Linked DNA regions of Homo sapiens: region 2 is linked to region 1. The links are contacts of gene promoters, found by promoter capture Hi-C in human tissues and cell types (Jung and others, 2019). All regions are on one chromosome and are shown on one strand. Each heading gives the region's core, a stretch centred on a gene start or on the middle of the fragment in contact. The rest is flanking DNA. Distances are from core to core; before and after follow the strand shown. Region 1 holds the start of ZSCAN30 (zinc finger and SCAN domain containing 30). Region 2 overlaps MAPRE2 (microtubule associated protein RP/EB family member 2).

Evidence for each region. The method cuts DNA at HindIII sites, captures the fragments that hold promoters and counts their contacts. A contact is called where the count stands out against the background at its distance.
Region 2: a fragment that was not itself captured here is called in contact with the fragment with the promoter of ZSCAN30 in region 1 in 1 of the 25 tissues and cell types used here (dorsolateral prefrontal cortex).

Annotation. Positions count from the first base shown.
Region 1 is chr18:35,288,341-35,292,109 of GRCh38, forward strand. It overlaps ZSCAN30 (zinc finger and SCAN domain containing 30), which reads right to left and starts at 1,889. Exons shown (of 4, transcript NM_001112734.4): 1 at 1,744-1,889. It also overlaps the pseudogene ZNF271P. RefSeq lists an enhancer at 2,006-2,165. The HindIII fragment of the contact is 7,442 bases long and covers 1-3,769 here.
Region 2 is chr18:35,080,312-35,084,080 of GRCh38, forward strand. All of the region lies in intron 2 of MAPRE2 (microtubule associated protein RP/EB family member 2), which reads left to right. Among named protein-coding and RNA genes, the nearest start is that of MAPRE2, 41 kb to the left of the region's middle. The HindIII fragment of the contact is 4,180 bases long and covers 1-3,769 here.

The DNA.
Region 1 (3,769 bases), core at 639-3,138:
GTTGGTAAGGATGTGGAGGAACCGGAACTCTCATGTACTCATGTTAGGAATGCAAAATGATACAGCCACTCTGAAAAGTAGTGTGGGTTTTTTTAAACATTAAATGTACATCTACCATGAGAGAGGGGGAAAAAAGCATATGTCCATATAAAGACGTGTGTACATGAATGTTCTCAGCTTTACTTGTAACAGTAAAAACCTGGAATAACCCAAATGCCCATGAACTGGTGATTGGATAAACAAACTGTGGTATATACATACAATGGAATATTATTCAGCAACAAAAATTAACTATTGATACACACAGCAATAAAGATAAATCTCAAAATAAAAGCTTAGTGAAACAACTCTGACAAAAACAAGGACATTCTGTATGATTCCATTTAAATAAATATCTAGAAAATGCAAACTAATCTCTAGTAACAGCTGACCAGTGGAGGGGGCATTGGGAGAGAGGCTTACCAACGGGCAGGAGGAAACTTTTGGGGTTTAGATGTAATAAACATATTATTTTGATTGCAGTGATAGTTCCACAGCTGTATTCATTTAACAAGCCTTATCAAATTATATCCTTTAAATATTTGCTGTTTATGTCAGTTATACCTCAATAAAGCTGTTTTGTTTTGTTTTGTTTTGTTTTGTTTTGAGACAAAGTCTCGCTTTGTCACCCAGGCTGGAGTGCAGTGGCGCAATCTCGGCTCACTGCAACCTCCGCCTCCTGGGTTCATGGGTTCACGCGATTCTCCTGACTCGGCCTCCCAAGTAGCTGGGATTAAAGGCGCACACCACCATGCCCAGCTAATTTTTGTATTTGTAGTAGAGACAGGGTTTCACCTTGTTGGCCAGGCTGGTCTCCAACTCCTGATCTCAGGTGATCCACCTGCCTCAACCTCCCAAAGTTTTAGGATTACAGGCCTAAGCTGCGCCTGGCCAAAAAGAAAGCTGTTTTTTTAAAACTATCTGCACTCCCTACTTGGGAGGGTTGGACTCAAGTTCCCACATCTCTTTCCTCTTACGGTTATATTAAGGGCTTAGTCATACATCCCTAAATTTCATATATCCCAACAGGGACTTGGGCTGGGACAGGAAGCCCTCTTCCTCCACCTCAACTACCACTTAGCCACCCACCATTTTCTCAAACCTCTTCCTTTCCCCACCGGACAGCTTAAACCAAGTCACACGTCTCATTGGTCTCAACAGAAATGAGGTCCCAACTCCTCATTTCCCAAGATATTTCCATGAACACAGCAATATCCTTTCCTACCCTGATTACCCCGCACCCTCCATTTCGGGTCCTTCTCACCCTGATCAGTGAGAATTGTTCTAGCAAGCAAACCTTAAATAGACCTCGTACCCTTTCTAGATTGCAAAGTAGATAAAAATCCAACTTTCCGTTAATTCAGGGATTAATTACTGAGCATCACTTATTTCTTGGGCAGTGGTTCTCAAAATGTGGTCCCAGGACCAACAGCTTCAGGATCACCTGAGAACCTGGGCTGCCACCGCCCCCTCCCCCACTACTAAATCAGCAACTCCGGAGTTGTGGGGCAGAAGTCAGTATTTTAACAAGGCCTCCAGGTGATTCTGATGCGCGCTACTCTTCTGGGGGTGTGAAAAACCAGAGAGGACAGGAAGAAAGTTAGAATTAAAGCATACCTACGAATCAGATAAGCGATAGGGGGAGGGGTGGTTATTTAAAAAACGATAACTAATTAAGAACTTGTATGTAGTAAGAAAACCTACCCTGCCCCAGAGAGCTTTCCCGAAAGATAATGGATTCCGACATTCACCTCAAGAACCGGCAGACAGAGCAGCAAAGGATCTGTCGCTGGCCAAGCAGGTCCCTGGCTAAGGCACTGCTAGGGACAGCTCGCGGCGGTTCGGGGGTTAATTCTCGGCAGCCCTCCGTCACCCGGTGCCCCACCCCCGCCCTGCGCCTGCGCGGTGAAGCGCCATAGAGCTGAGCACTCCTCCCAGATTCCTAGAGCGGACAGGGCGATGGCAGGTTCGCCGGGTGTGAGGCTTCACAGCGGTCCGGTGACCAAGTCGAGGTAAGGGTGATGTCGGCTCGCGGATAGCAGAGGAGTTCCGGGTGATCTTGCCTAACGAGCAGGAAACTGTGCATGGTTTCTCGAGTCCTTGGAGAGTGAAGGCCCCCGGGGTCGCTCCCGGGCACGGAGAGACGATTGGTTCACGGCCTAGTGTTCGGTTTGTTCCCAGTCAGCCCTTGCTGGCCTTGGGTTCAACCGAATGAACGCCAGAAACTCTGTGGGGTGGGGGGAGTCACCAACCGTGGTGCATCCATACGAATCAGCCTACCGTACTGGGAAAGAGCCACCTGAATTTGTGAATGTTGTAAAAGCAAAAGGAAGAAAAATGATCAGTAGTGTCATTTTTGGATAGGAAGGGCAGCGAATAACATAGTGTTAACCACTAGAATTCACTGTAAAATTCCCCTCTCTGCGTTATCTTTCCAGTTATACCTTTTTTTGGTAGCATTAACCCCTAATTTTGTTTGAACATCTCTAGACTTGGAATGGGGAATGTGTGTCTTAAGTGGGTTAATCCCTGGCTCTTGGATGATGGGGAGGAAGCCTAATACATTCTGAGAGAAAAGCAACTGGAAGTCAAATGAGATTTTTTGTTTTCTCCTTCTTTTATATCTTGAGGATTTTTCTGGTGGTCTAGTCTCAGAGATTACATCTGTAGTCAGCACAATGATTCCCTTCCAAGCCCAGTGGTGCCCAGTTGCCTCCAGGTCCCAGACCTTTATGTGGACAAGAAAAGCTTACAGAGGAAATGGTAATTCTCCACTTGCACACTGAGGTGTCCAGTTGCAGCCCATGGAGATCCAGTTCAATTATGAATCTCAGGAACACCACCTTCTGTCAGGTGAGAGGCAGGGTATTATATCTTTCTTAGTGGCTTTGGCGGGGTGGGGAGGATGAGGGGGTGTCACTCTATGCTAGTGTCTTCAAATGATCCCCCTTAACTCTGTTAGGCAGTATTACCTCTTTAGTGTACCAAGCATAGTCACATGACTTTATTTCAAAATCTGGCGATCAAATTCTCATGCAGCTCTCTCCACTTTTTTAAGACCCCAAAGTCATTCATTTTTCCCTGTATAATGACCTCATTGCTAATCTGTCAGTTTTGGTCATTTTTCTTATCTACTGTAGGGGCATAGTTAAAAGTTCTGGAGTCTGACAACCTAGATTCAAACAGTAGTTTTGTCACTTAACTGGCTCCAGTAAGTTACTCATATATTTTACGATTCTGTTTCCTCACTTTTCAAGTGCATAGTACTTCATACCTTGAAGTTATTTTGAGATTTGTATCTATGTATTACTCCAGAATAAAGAACCCCAAAATTTAGTGACCTAAAACATCAGACTTCTTAAACCACATTATTTCTTATGATTCTGTAGGTCATCAACTTGAGCTGGGTTCACCTGGGCATTTTTTTTTCTCTTGGTCTTTTCTGGGGTCATTTTGCAGTCATCTCAAGGCTGACTCTACTGGGGCCAGGGTCTAAGATGGTTTCAATCACGTTGTCTCAATGTCAAACTGTTAGTGCCGGCTATGGCTTGAGTCCTCATGTCTTCAGCAGGTGACGCTGGACTTTTTCACAGGACAGCTTGTTTCCAGTCAGAGAAGGCAAGCTCTTTTCATACCTATGTTTGTGTTTCATCTGTTAATGTGTTTCATCTGTTAATGTCTCATTGATGAAAGCAGGTCATATGACCAGTTCTAAAGTCATTATAGAAGG
Region 2 (3,769 bases), core at 451-2,950, 210 kb before region 1:
TACACCACTATACAAAACACAACACAGATCATATCCAGTTAGGACCTATCCCTTTACTACCAAAGTTCTCCCTGACAGGTCTATTCAGAGAGAGCAAATTCCTTTTTCTCAGCTTACCTGAGTATGAAGCAAAGGCAGAGAAAGGCCCCTGGAGAAAGGTACACGTCCAGCCTGTCTTGCCATCATTCAGTGTAGGGCACTAATGGGCAGTCTGTACATGGAAACATCTGAAATATTAGCAGGCATCTGGTTTCTACACAGTTAAGATAATCAAGCCAAACATCTCCAAATTCTTCTGCTCTTCAAAAGAAAACATTTTTCCTAACCAATTTTTTTCTGAATTGTGTTTTTAAATTTCTAGTTTATCAGACATGTAGACACTATTAAAAAGGAGTGTCAGAAATCACTGTCAAATGTTTGGGCATGTTAGAATTGCATACCTGGAAACAGAATAATGAAATTGCTTGGCAACTCGTAAAGACACCATCATTTTTCAGATTGCGTTTTTTTTTTTCCCACCCTGAAACCATTACGTAATTCTGACAAATAGCAAATTACCTGTGTTTGTCCCCTCCCTCCCAAGGGTGTGTTCTTACCCAAATATTAATACTCATAAGCTTTTTATGACCAAATTATTTGACATGAGAAGCATATAAATGTGAAACTAATGCGAGTCCTGTTTCCTGCAGTTTCTCTTCGCATTCTGCATGAGGAGGATCGTTCTCCATTTTCATTTCTTCTAGATTACATTTGTATGACAGCTCATGGAAGAACTTTACAAAAGTGTAGAAGGAGCCAAATTTTAATGAAAAGATGTACATCAACTTTAAAATTGCGCAGAATTGTGTTAAAATCTACTATTTAAAAACCTCACAGAAATCTTTTCCTGCTTCTTTTTTTTTCCAAAAATTATTCCATTCTTTTATTTCTACTGTGGTCATATGATTGAATCCCTGAAGTAAATACTGTGCATTCTTCAAACTGATTTGGGATCCTTCTGATACTAGAGTGTACCTAGAAAGCAAAGTATATTTTGGGATTAACCTGGGAAATATAAAGAAAGCAACTCATAAAGAACAATATTCTGTTAGTATCACAGTCTGCACGAATGTTATGTGGTGCCTGAATGTGAGTTCCTCTCTGTCTGTAATTGCTGGAGGCTTCCTTTGGTGCCACACCTGGCCTTCTGGGCTTTCTCTGGACGGGACTCTTTTCAGGGAGCTGCCGGGGAAGGAGCATCCTCCTCTGGAAAGTGGTAATAGGGGATGTTATTGGTGTAGATGAAAGCTAGAGGACTGGACTGGGGAGAGTGGCCATAAGTATGGAGTTCTCACCTGCAAGTCTTGGGGAGAGGGTGAAATGGCTGAAATCTGGGGAAGAATCCTGGAGCTTCTAGTCTCTAGTGCCAGGGATAGTGACCTCAGCCTCAAAATGAGCAACTTGAGAAAGGGGCGCATTGTGTAGACGTGGACCGTGGGTTTGCGCTGGTCCACTCATACCAGTATATTTTACCTTATACTAAAAGCCTCTCTGTGGGCTGCCATACATAGAGTTCATGTAGTGGCCTGGCCTGTATAACTGTTGATAGTATGATGTGGGTAATGGTTCAGTAGAAATTCTCTGAGAAAATGGGGAAAGGGATCAGCTTTAGGTTTCTTACTTGCAATTTAATTTGACCTAAAAATACATACGTTCTGGGCCGGGCGCGGTGGCTCACGCCTGTAATCCCAGCACTTTGGGAGGCCGAGGCGGGCGGATCACGAGGTCAGGAGATCGAGACCATCCCGGCTAAAACGGTGAAACCCCGTCTCTACTAAAAATACAAAAAATTAGCCGGGCGTAGTGGCGGGCGCCTGTAGTCCCAGCTACTTGGGAGGCTGAGGCAGGAGAATGGCGTGAACCCGGGAGGCGGAGCTTGCAGTGAGCCGAGATTGCGCCACTGCACTCCAGCCTGGGCGACAGAGCGAGACTCCGTCTCAAAAAAAAAAAAAAAAAAAAAAATACATACGTTCTGAAAATTAGAACTTAAAAATGGCATTCTCTAAAGACGTTTGTGCCCAGAAATCAGCATTGGTTTGCCTACCAAATTAGTTAAGCTTCTTCTTTTCCTGGCATTTAAAGCCTTGAGCAATCTAGCTGCATTCCACCTTTCCAACATTTATCCCCACAGCCTCCCTACCCATAACCTGTATTTCCTCAAACGCACGTTTCACTTATATGCCCTGATTCCTTGTCTTTGCTTGGAGTATCTCCTTTGAAATTCATATCAAATGCCACTTTGCCCTATTCTTCCTGATCACATTCAACAAAATGTGAGCTCTCTCTCTCTTTTCAATGATCAGACCTTTACAAAGCCTTACGCTCATTGAGTACTTGTTTTAAGTCTTCAGCATTCGGAGTTAAGCTCCTTGGGGACTGAAATGATCATGCAAGTTTGGCTTGATTTTATGTGTTTGATAATACTGATTACTCTTTGTTGTTTTTTTATTGGGCAGACTTTGAACTAACTGTATGGAACTAATATTTATGTATCTATATTTATAAATATTACTAATATTTATGTATCTAGGCCATACAGTTTAGCACTTATAGTTGTTTTGTATTTTTGCTGTTTTTCCATGTGTATTTCTCCAGACTCTCAAGACTAAGTTACTTGGTTCTTATTAAGACTAAGGTCATATTCCTCAATAAGTATTTGCTGGTTTGTTTAACATTGCTAAATAAACAAAGTGACATCTCTCCATGCCACCTACAGATGGGCATTTCTTTAGAGGTGACCTATGACTACAAAAATTAGATAAGATCTCATATCTTTTCAGATTCTTACCTTCTACTCAAGCTCTTCTTAAGTCTTACCTTAAATTTAAGTCTTACCTTAAATTTGACCTTACATATTTAATCAATCCTTTAAAAAATAAAGCACCTTTTTGTCCATTAAAGTAGAAGGGTAATACAAGTGTGTGAGAATACGTGAGTGCACATGTGGAGAAGCTATATCCCATGATATTAGAGCTTTATGAAACTTTCTATTTTCATGACCCTAATGAGAAAACTGACTTCTTCAGAATGGGTTTCATATGTAACTTTCGAACTTGTTTTTCATTTGTAGTAAAAGCTTTTTATGTCCCCTTTGCTCCTCTATCTGGAATGTCAAATTCTAACTTTAGCTCCACTCTCAGACTCTAGCCTGTGAGACATCGCACTGCCAGTTTCAGTATCAGCCTCCCTGGAAGCCAGTGACATTTTGTCCTGCACACCATTCCTGCCCTGTGCTCCCAGTGCCTCTCCTACTTCTTCCTTCTTGGCTCCTCTGGAGAAGCCAAATCATATTTTACCAAGTCAGACACCTTATTTTGGTAAAATTTGATGAGCACATTATCCTACAAGAAATCACTGGTGTTAGAATCTAGGCATGAAACTGAGCGCTGGCCACTGCACCATTAATCAGCAGACGAAAAGAAATCTGAAACCAATGAGATATTTTACTTGCCAGTAAAATCTCTATTTTCTAAAATTTACTTTTTAATAAAAATGTTGATACCTAAATCTTAATCAAGGGCTATTTGTTATATAGGTTTTTACTCCATTGAAATTTCCTTTTGAAAGATAGTAGAAAATACTCTTTATTCTTCCATGATGTTTCTATGAAGAAGCACTTTTAAAATCAATTTGTTACAGTAATATTAATATCTGATCAATTTTCTCTACAGCAGGCCTAACATTTAATGTAGTTCTGCAGGCTTCTTAATAAATTCAGATTTAAACATTA